Regions from separate parts of the Homo sapiens genome. Here region 1 is linked to region 2. The links are contacts of gene promoters, found by promoter capture Hi-C in human tissues and cell types (Jung and others, 2019). All regions are on one chromosome and are shown on one strand. Each heading gives the region's core, a stretch centred on a gene start or on the middle of the fragment in contact. The rest is flanking DNA. Distances are from core to core; before and after follow the strand shown.

Region 1 (5,265 bases), core at 1,662-4,161, 210 kb after region 2:
AAGAGCTAGCGAACTGAGAGAACCTGAGTGGACCTGGGGAACTGACAGGTCCTTCTTTCCACTCATCTTTTTCTTGAGACGGAGTCTCCTCTGTCGCCCAGCCTAGAGTGTAGTGGCACAATTTTGGCTCACTGCAACCTCCGCCCCCAGGTTAAAGCAATTCTCCTCCCTCAGCCTCCTGAGTAGCTGGGACTACAGGTGTGCACCACCATGTCCAGCTAATTTTTGTATTTTTAGTAGAGACGGGGTTTCGCCATGTTGGCCAGGCTGATCTCGAACTCCTGACCTCCAGTGATCCACCTGCCTCTGCCTCCCAAAGCGCTGGGATTACAGGCGTGAGTCACCACACCTGGTCCCTTTTTTATCCTCTTCTTGAAGAAAAGGTCTGACCATTGAGTCATGGGAGTGACGTATAAAGAAGAGAACCTCTCAGAGAAGGATGAAGAAGAGGCAGCAAACTCACTTAGCACTGCCACTCAATGGAGTGTGGCACAGTGGGGGAGCCATCAGTGAATGTGGCTGGGCACAGACAGCTGGGATAGGAGCCTGAGACAGAGGGGATGGGCAAGGGGATGGTCGAAGACAGGACAGCAGAGAAGGAAGGCTGAGCGGCTCTGTGCTGAGCGTGGCAGGCAGATGGTGGGAAATCTGAGATGGGGGCGGTCTGCACCATGGGGAGACGGGGTGGAAAGATGGGGGGATCAAGCTGCTTCACACTAGGGGTGACCCTTTTTCTGTTTGTTCGCTTGTTTAATTCCTAGGGCCATGCCTCTGGGAAAGGCTTCTCAGAAACTCTAGATCTTGGAGAAAGAGGGAGTGTTGGGTTTTGGGGCTTAGGTCAAACACATCTTTCTGAAAAGTGTGAATTCTCAGTTGAAAAAAGGGGAAGTATTGGGAGAAATTAACCCTATGGGCTCAGAGATCTTAGAAATCAGACTCTACTGTGTGTTAGTGTTACAGTAAAGTGTGTTGAATGCTGGAGCGGGTTTTAGATTTATAGGAAGGAGCCGGGCACAGTGGCTCACATCTATAATCCCAGCACTTTGGGAGGCTGAGGTGGGCAGATCACCTCAGGTCAGGAGTTCAAGACCAGTCTGGGCAACATGGTGAAACCCCGTCTCTACTAAAAATACAAAAATTAGCCAGGCTTGGTGACGCGCACCGGCACTGGTGGTCCCAGCTACTTGGGAGGCTGAGGCAGGAGAATCGCTTGAACCTGGGAGGTAGAGGTTGCAGTGAGCTGAGGTCGTGCCACTGTACTCCAGCCTGGGTAACAGAGTGAGACTCCATCTCAAAACAAAACAAAACAAAAAAAGATTTGTAGGAAGGGCAATGTTGGGACCCCTGGCTTTTATCCTGCACTTCTTTCCTGGAGCTCAAAGTCGGGTCATGGGCATAATCGCAGCCTTATGAATAGAGGATATTATTTTACATGCTTATCGGTCTCTGCTGGATGTGTGAGTCTTTTTCTGCCTTTGGCTTCTTGACCTTAGCTTCTATTTATACCTACAATACTCATCCTTTCAAATAGAGGGTAATTCAATAGCAGCTATATTTTCATGCACTCGCTGAAATATAAAAATCCTAAGGGCATAATAATTGCCTTTTATGCTTTTTAAATGTCTTATCTTTCTTTGGCATTAAATTATTTTCCAAAATAGATTTCTTCCTTCTTCTTTCTCCTGACTGCCTTTTCTAGAATTTTACTCAATGTTTTTTGCCAATAGGTCTTTTTCTTATAAGTCCTCACATTTGTTCTAATTATAAACTAGCACACATGGTGACATATATTACTTTCCTAGGCTGGATTCCAGAAAGCAATGACAAGCAAAGAAAGAAGAGCTCCAACGTAAGCTGAATTTAGTCTAGGGTATGACAAATTGCCTTTGCTGCTGCATTTTTATTTTTTCAAATCCACCAAACATCAAGAGTTTTATTTCTAGCTGAGCAGGCTTCAGTGGGCTTCCCCCTTTTCTACTAAATTATAAGCTTCTTCAGGGTGAGTAACATTTTCTAGTCATCTTTGGAATCTCACCTCTAACTGCCTTGCAATGAGCATCGAACTGAATTAAATTGCATTTAATCAAATGAAAGGTGAAACCTAACAGCATTTCAGAGGAAGTCAAGGAAACAAACTGCATTCTATGGCATAGACATGCCTAGAGTCCCTGCTATAGTTGACCAGTTGGATAATTCAAAATTTGTATATAGTCAAATCTCACAGTGTTTTTATTTAAAAAAGAAAAAAAAAACCTCTTTCTCTAAAATAAGAAAGGTAATAGATTTGGAGGCTGAGATGGGCAGATCACAAAGTCAGGAATTCGAGACCAGCCTGGCCAACATAGTGAAACCCCGTCTCTACTAAAAATACAAAAAATTAGCCGGGTGTGGTGGCAGTCACCTGTAATCCCAGCTACTCAGGAGGCTGAGGCAGGAGAATCGCTTGAACCCAGGAGGCGGAGGTTGCAGTGAGCGGAGATTGCACCATTGCGCTCCAGCCCGTGCAACAGTGCGAGACTCCATCTCACAAAAAAAAAAAGAAAAGAAAAGTAATAGAAAGTGGGGGAAATCACCCACATTCCCATTATCCTGCAATATATCAAATTGATAACAGTGGTCCTACTTTGTCTCTTTATACACATATATGTGTGTGTGTATGTGGCATTTAAAACAAAATGGTATACTCTGAGCCCAAAAGACAAAATGATATGCTACACGTCTCGTTCTGTAGCCTGTTTTTACTTAGCATTATGGGTTGAGAATATTTTTTCACATCAATAGAATTTTTTCAACAGATATTTATCATTCCATCATATGATTGATTATACCATAATTTAGTTAACCACTGATCTAAGTTGTTTCTATTTTAAAAAATATTATAATGCTTTGATATCTTTGTTATTGTTGCTTTTAACTCTACACCCAGCTCTTATTTCTTTAGGATACCATAGGTAGAATTACTGGAACAAAAGATATGTAGGTTTTAAACTGTGGGCACATTTATGAATTGCTCTTCAGAGAGGTTATACTTCTGTGAGTTCCCTGTTTGTGTCTTTTGTCCATTAAAAAAGAAAGAGTATTTGTCCTATTGATTTGTAAAGGCTCTTTATATATTAAGGATATCATGCCTTTGTCATAAATCATGCAAACATTCTTCTCAGTTTGTGTTTCTTTTTAATTTTATTTTGTTTTATTTTTATTTTTACTTTATGTTTTTCTAATCCCAGCACTTTAGGAGGCTGAGGAGGGCGGACTGCCTGAGCTCAGGAGTTTGAGACCAGCCTGGGCAACATGGTGAAACCTGTCTCTACAAAAATACAAAAAATTAACCAGGTGTGGTGGCACATGCCTGTAGTCCCAGCTATTCGGGAGGCTGAGGCACAAGAATTGCTTGAACCCGGGAGGCAGAGGTTGCAGTGAGCTGAGATTACACCACTGCACTCCAGCCTGGGTGACAGATCGAGACTCTTTCTGCAAAAATATATAAAATAAAAATAAAAATACATAGCACCAGAAGCTAGTCTATGGAAAATCCTTCAAAGTATAAAGTTGTAAACAAAAGATTTGATTCTCATTAACACTTGGTGAAAACAGAAGTCTTCTCCTTTCAGGAACATTCTTGATAATTTATTGATTATAACCATACCCTTGTGTGACAGGAATCACACAAAATAGAACTTATCAGATTCCTTGTTTGTAGGGCACAATATTTTTTTTTTTTTTTTTTTGAGACAGAGTCTTGCTCTGTCACCCAGGCTGGAGTGCAGTGGCACGATCTCTGCTCACTGCAAGCTCCGCCTCCTGGGTTCATGCCATTCTCCTGCCTCAGCCTCCCGAGTAGCTGGGACTACAGGCACCCGCCACCAAGCCTGGCTAATTTTTTTTGTATTTTTAGTAGAGACGGGGTTTCACCGTGTTAGCCAGGATGGTCTTGATCTCCTGACCTCATGATCCACCCGCCTCGGCCTCCCAAAGTGCTAGGATTACAGGCGTGAGCCACCACACCTGGCCTATAGGGCACAAATTTGTAGCAGTTCTCTGAATGTCTGATACAGCTCAGACAGAAAAGAAACACCTGACCTCAGGCGATCTGCCCACCTCGGCCTTCCAAAGTGCTGGAATTACAAGCATGAACCACTGCACTCAGCCTATTCCAATGTTCTATTATCACAAATAATCCTGCACTGTTATCTGCTGTGGTTTGGATGTGGTTTGTTTGGCCCCACCAAATCTCGTGTTGAAATGTGATCCCCAGTGTTGGAGGTGAGGCCTGATGGGAAGTGTTTGGATCACAGGGCAGGTCCGACATAAATGTCTTGGTGCTATTCTCATGGGAGTAAGTGAATTCTCACTCTTAGTTCTCATTAGAACTGATTATTGAAAGAGCCTGGCACCTCCTCCCCTCTCTCTTGCTTCTTCTCTCACCATGTGATCTGTACATGCCAGCTGCCCCCTTTGCCTTCCACCATGAGTAGAAGCAGCCTGCAAAACTGTGAGCCAAATAAACCTCTTTTCTTTATAAATTATGTAGCATCAGGTACTCCTTTATAGCATCACAAATGGACTAGGACAGAAAATTTGTACCAAGGGTCGGGGGTTACTAGGAAGATACCTGAAAATGTGGAAGTGGTTTTAAAACTGAGTAATGGGAAGATGTTGGAAGAGTTTGGAGGGCTCAGAAGAAGACAGGAAGACAAGGGAAAGTTTGAAACTTTGAGACTGGTTAAGTGGTTGTGGGCAAAATGCTGATAGAAACATGAACAATGAAGGCCAGGCTGATGAGGTCTCAGTTGGAAATGAGGCACTTATTGGGAACTGGAGCAAAGGTCACCCTTGTTAAACTATAGCAAATAACGTGGCTGCATTGTGTCCATGCACTAGGACTTTGTGGAAGGCTGAACTTCAGAGTGATGACCTAGGGTATCTGGTAGAAGAAATTTCTAAGCAGCAAAGCATCCAAGACATGGTGTGGCTACTTTTAACAGATTATGAGCAGATATAGGAGTCAAGGCATGATCTAAAATTGGAACTTAAAAGGGAAGCAGAGAGTAAAACTTTGGAAAATTCTCAGCCTGGCCATGTGGTACAGAAGGAAAGAACATTTTCAGGTGAGGAATCCAAGAGCACAGCTGAGCCACCACTTGTTAGAGAGATTATCACAGATAAAAGGGAGGCAGGTGCTCGGGCCAGGCGTGGTGGCTCACGCCTGTAATCTCAGCACTTTGGGAGGCCAAGGTGGGCAGATCACAAGGTCAGGAGTTCAAG
Region 2 (5,399 bases), core at 1,014-3,513:
GTACTGCCAGAATCCTTCTTGTGTTTGTAGCCAGGAATAGAGTTACACAGTTGATTCTGATATTTGTTGCTAGCAGAAAGTTTTACTAAAACACATATAATTTAGTTGCAATTAATATAAAGATAATGACCAAAACTTTCAATTGGACAGATTAAAGTTATTGAAGTGGGCCACCGCCTGGGACATAGACATTGTGGTGTATTTATAATAGGCATAGGTGGCATTCAGTAATATTGTCATCAAGGATCTCTCTTGGTTACAATATTATTGTAGGTAACAAATTTAAGTTAATCCAGAAATTGGTTTTAGATGCAGCAGAAAGGAAAGGGGGAGAGGGTTTGCAGAACAGAGACTATTTTATTTAGTCCTACCAATCTGGCCTGAGACAGGCTTTCATATCTGCTTTTATAGAGAAGAAAAGAGGGGCCAAGAAGGCTGACTTCCTCAGCCAGTTTCCAGTTGCTAGGAATGAGCTATCCCTGGGTCACTATGACTGCAAAACCAGAGGTTTATCTGCTACCGTATCTCATAGCACAGAAGCCACTAAGATGAGTAACCACCAAAGGAATTAAGACAAGCACACATCACAACTAGGCTACACAATGCTACTGGCACGATGAAAGAGGCAGAAAAAAGTGCCTGGGGGTCACAACAGGGCAAAAGCACATCGAGTGGAGGCTTGGTGGATCAGGGAAGGTTTCTGAGATGTGGTGACATTCCAGAAAGTCCTTCAAAGATGCACTGTGTTACAACAAACAGAGAAGGAGGTGTTAGAAGAAAGGCCTCAATACGGGGGCACGGAGGAATGAGAGGTAAGCAGTTTAGATGCGGAATGAATCTAGCAAAGCTACATCAAGAAGTTAGCCACGTGAAAAAAAAAAAAAAGAATCTCCTCCCACGGCAAGGTCCATCACGTGAGGCCAGGAGACTTCAAGCCTACAAGGAAAGGCGCCACACATCAGGCCCAGGACACTCACCTGTGTGTCCACCCCAGGAGAGGCAGAAGGACCCGCTGGACCCCAGGACGCCAGGACGCCCAGACACCCACACATTCTTCCTCGTACACCTTGTTCCCTCCTTTCCCTTCTCTTCCCTTCAGAAGCCTTCCACCTGCCTGTGCCTTCCATAGCCACAACCAGGCACACTCTGGGTGGCTGAGGGCAACTCACTTCATCTTCCTTTTCCTCTCAGAGAGGGAAGGAAGAGCTTTGTTTCCTTTTCAAGGATCCCCACCAGCAGCAAGGCAGGTGGAAGAAACTGAGGGAAGAGGAAGCAGGACCCCCGCCGCCCCCCCAGTCTAGCCTTTACAGACTCCTTTTAAGGAGCTGAAGAGGTTGGGAGAGGCTTGCCCTGCCCCGGGGCAGCAGAAACCCGGGCGCTGCTGCAGCAGCTGTGGGCGATCTCCGTCAGCTCCTGGGCTCCAGGATCCTGCGGCCTCAGCCCCTCCGCGTCTACTCTCGGGGCCACCACCTCCAGTTGGCTTCTCCAGGGCACTTCATTTCATTCCGTCCCTAGCATCCAATAAGACGCGAAAAACTTAATCCCATTTTACAACTGAAGCCACTGAGGCCCAGAGAGCAAAGCCATTTGTCCTGGGAAAGTGGTCAAGCTGGGACTTTGACTCTTCAGACCACCCAAGGGAAGGGGTGTGTGTGTGTGTGTGTGTGTGTGTGCGTGTGCGGTGGGGGGCGCTTGTTTTGAGTTCTTAAGAAAACCTCCTGGCGACCCCCTTCTTCCACATCCCAAGACGCTCGTCCCGCACTTTCTCGGGAATGAGGTTTCTGCAGGCGAGGGCGGCGCTGCCTTCTTCCTCCGCGGCAGTGAGACCCCGAGGGCGCCCCAGGGTAGGAGGGGAGGCCGAATCATCTCCTGAGAAGAGCGCCAGAGAACTTCAGAGCGTTTCGCCCTTCCCCGGGAGAGGCAAACACCGACACGTCTGTGTCTTTTACCAACAAGTGCCTTCAAGCCCGGCGGGGGCAGACACCTCCGCGCCGGCCGCCGGCGAGGTCTCCGCGGTCTGCGGGGGCCACGGCCTCGCCTCAGCTGCGCTGATTTAGGGCGTTATCCGGTCCCGGGGCGGGAGGCGGCCTCCCGGGCGGCGAAGCAGCGCCCGCGGCGTGGGGCGACCGCGCGGTGGGCGGAGGGGCAGGGGGAGGGGCGGAGAGGCGTCCCCGGGGCGCAGGGGGCGGGCGTGCGGGCACACGCGGTGCGCGGCGGGGGCGGCCATCGTGCTGCGCAGCCTGGGCGCTTGGGGAGCCGCCCACTTCGCCGGGTCGCGCCCCGACGGCCGGAGCGTGGATGCGGCGGCGCCCGCCGAGCCGGGGCGGACGCGGGGCGGCCCGGGCCCGGGAGACGCGCCGGCAGCCCCGGCACCGCAGCGGTCGCAGGATGGCCGAGGTAAGCGCGGCGCCCTCCGCGGGCGCGGGGATTCTCTGTGCGCGGAGCAGGCGGCCCGGGACGCCGCTGGGCTCCGGCTCCCGTGGGTACCCGAGGGCCACCTCCCGAGGGCCAGCTGGCTACCTGCGCGGCAGCGCGGCCCCGAGGCGCGGCGGGAGGGACCGTGGTCTCCGGCCGGGAGGCGGCGGCGGGGGGGTTGGGGCTCTGGGACCCGTCCCTGCCCGACGTCCCGGAGCTGGCAAACGGTCTCCGCGCCGGATCTGCGGGCGCGTCGGAGGTGCCGGCGGGCCAGCCTGTGGAAATCGGCGGCGGCACTCGGCGGGTACCCTACACGCCACTCTCTGCCGCCCGCACCCCAGGCTTCAGCCCAGGACGTTAGGACTTGCTGTTTCCACCTGTGGGGGTCGACCCCTTCTTTTTTTTTTTTTCTTTTACCTCAGAATTTGTGAAACAGCTGATATTTCACACTGGCCGTCTTTCTCTCCGGGGATTGTTTCTCTGGAGAACGGGGCGCGCGGCAGCCTCCGGTCACTGAGGAGAACTGCGGAGACGGGCGGGCGGCCGTGAGGAGGCTCCCGTCCACTGCGGGACAAATCTTTTGTAGAGCAACAACAACAACAAAAAACAAAACAAACCCACAAGAACAAAAAACCCACGACTGAAAGTCGCTATTTAGACAGGTCCGGTCCGAAAGCTTCCGGGACACAGACCGAGCGTTGACCGTGTGCGGGGCAGATTTGACCAGCTTCACTGCGGACCCTGGAGTCCTTGTCGCGGCTCCGCGCGAGGTGGCCCGTCTTTCAGAAAGCGCTGGGACGGGGCTAAGGCGCTTGGGCTCTGGGCTGGAAGCCGGGCCGAGCCGCGTCCGCCGCTCCGAGGTTTTCCTGGAGTGACAGGAAGTGGGCCTGGGCTGCGGAGCCCGCGGCTGCGCCTGCCGCTTCCTTCAGGGGTTTGCATGGGAAGCGCCGGGACGGGAAGCCCCCGGCCCCCGACTTCGAGCTCCCTTAACAGTCCCGCCCAGCCTGGCCTTGGGACCTGCGAGCGCGTGGCTCGCCCGTCTCGGGAGCGCCCCGTCGGTTCCGTGCTGGGAGCCGGGCGGCGGCGGCGAGGCTGGGGGCCGCGGGCGGAGAAGGAGGAGGCCGCTGCGGGGTCTCCCGCTGCTCCTCCGGAGCCGCCGCCCAGACCCGGAGCCCCGCCGCCGCCTGGCTTTGCCGGAGTTCCTCGGGATTTGTCAGCCAGATGTGACAAGATTGTGGCGAGGCGAGTGAAGGAGATCTGATATTAATCAGCGCGTAGCTCCGAGCCAAACTTTCACAAATGCGGTGTAGAAACATGTTCTTCTCATTTAAGGCATCTCTTTGTGGCTGCGGGGCTGCCACCGCTCCGAGTCTGACAGTTAAGTGGAATGCCATCTCCCAGCCTTAATTGTGTGAGTGAAGTTGTGTGTGGTTGGGGGGCGGGGGGCATCAGACGCTCGGGGGTTCGGTAACGTCCCCTGGTTTTATGGCTGTGCTCGCCTCAGTCCTCTGAAGGCCAGGGCATTTAAAGCGGCCCAGACGCCTGGTCTCAGCCAGGCCTCTTGCTGTTAACACTTAAGGGGCCTAAAAGAGGCCCCACCGGTGTCCTGGGAATCCCTGTCAGGGAGAGAGAGAGTGTGTGTGTGAGGGAGAGAGAACATGTGTTACTGCATAGGACCACAGAGCAGATGTAGCAACAATTTTTTTAAAAATATATTCTTTTCATCAAAGCGACAAGATTTTGGCTTGACAGTAAGTGAATTGAAAAACAGCATTTGGCAGATTTTTTTTCATTCGCTGTTTATTTAATTTGCTATTCGATTTTATGGGATCTCTTGATAAGATTCTAAGTCTTCGACCCTGAGTTTGCAAATACGTGTTAATGTATTGAAACTTTTGTTCAGTGATGGATACACTGACTCTCTTTTCATTGATCCCTTCCCAGATTCGTTGATACATATTAAAACCTTGTTAAAATAGTTTGTCAAAATAAAATTTTGTACATCATATAAAAGAACATTACTTCAGATGTTACAAATTGTACTGGATTTGATTTGCTCTTTAAAGAGGTGTGAAAAGATGGCTTCTCCTTTTGTGATGATGAATTTTAAGAAATAACTTTATTCTTTTTGGCATACTTTCAGATGGTTAAAACGAATAAGATACGAGTCATCGTTTGATTTCTCATCTAATAAGTTTGCTAACTAATTTCACCAAGAAACTATTACTATTTCAAGTCAACTGTTGGTTGAACGTGTTCCTGTTGTAGTTAAATGCTGAGAAGAGGTGGTGAAATCTTCACCTAGCACACATGATGCTCACACTTTGGGAACTCGTAATTATGTTCAGGCATCTGCATAATTTAATTTGAATATCATCTGTACCTATAGTGTCCCTTCAGACTAGTAAGGATTTAGGGACATTCTCCTCCTTCAGAAAGTGGTTAAAGTTCTTTGGCCATTGATACCTACAGTGATCTGTTTGCTGTGGTTATAATTCTCATTAGAAATATTGACTAACATGAAGTAATTGCCTTGGAAGCATGAGATTTACTGGAGGGCTATTTTATGTTTTATTGCATCTCCCCCATGTAGCAGTTAGGCCTGCATCCCAGGCCCATGCCCACTTTCTGTACCTCAAGATCATCAGATTGGAAAGACGATCCAACCCGATAGATGAGAGAGAAAAGCCATACAGGTTTCCCTGTGGAACAAAGTAGTTGTCCCTAAGCACACATTTGTCATTTATGAATGCCTAGGGATAAGTATAAACAGGGAAACATTTTAAAAGTTCAATTTGTCAGTAAAATTAAACTGCAGCTTATGGAGTGGGGGGCAGAAGTGTCTTTTAGCTTCTGTATGTGGCTTTAGAAGTAATTTTGATGTGGCCATTAAAAGGGATGCCCTGAAGGTTCCACAGGGTAAATTACTTACAGGAGTGTGCTTCACCCCAGGGTGAATTTTCTCCTCTACAGATGTCATTTAG

The links. The method cuts DNA at HindIII sites, captures the fragments that hold promoters and counts their contacts. A contact is called where the count stands out against the background at its distance.
Region 1: a fragment that was not itself captured here is called in contact with the fragment with the promoter of BNC1 in region 2 in 1 of the 25 tissues and cell types used here (stomach).

What each region holds. Positions count from the first base shown.
Region 1 is chr15:83,074,224-83,079,488 of GRCh38, reverse strand. No RefSeq gene overlaps it. Among named protein-coding and RNA genes, the nearest start is that of MIR4515, 9.5 kb to the right of the region's middle. The HindIII fragment of the contact is 5,519 bases long and covers 152-5,265 here.
Region 2 is chr15:83,281,528-83,286,926 of GRCh38, reverse strand. BNC1 (basonuclin zinc finger protein 1) reads left to right here and starts at 2,263. Exons shown (of 5, transcript NM_001717.4): 1 at 2,263-2,397. The coding sequence starts at 2,299. It overlaps BNC1-AS1 (BNC1 antisense RNA 1), which reads right to left and starts at 2,915. Exons shown (of 3, transcript XR_932542.3): 1 at 2,833-2,915. RefSeq lists enhancers at 1,102-1,602, 2,372-2,872. The HindIII fragment of the contact is 7,632 bases long and covers 1-4,420 here.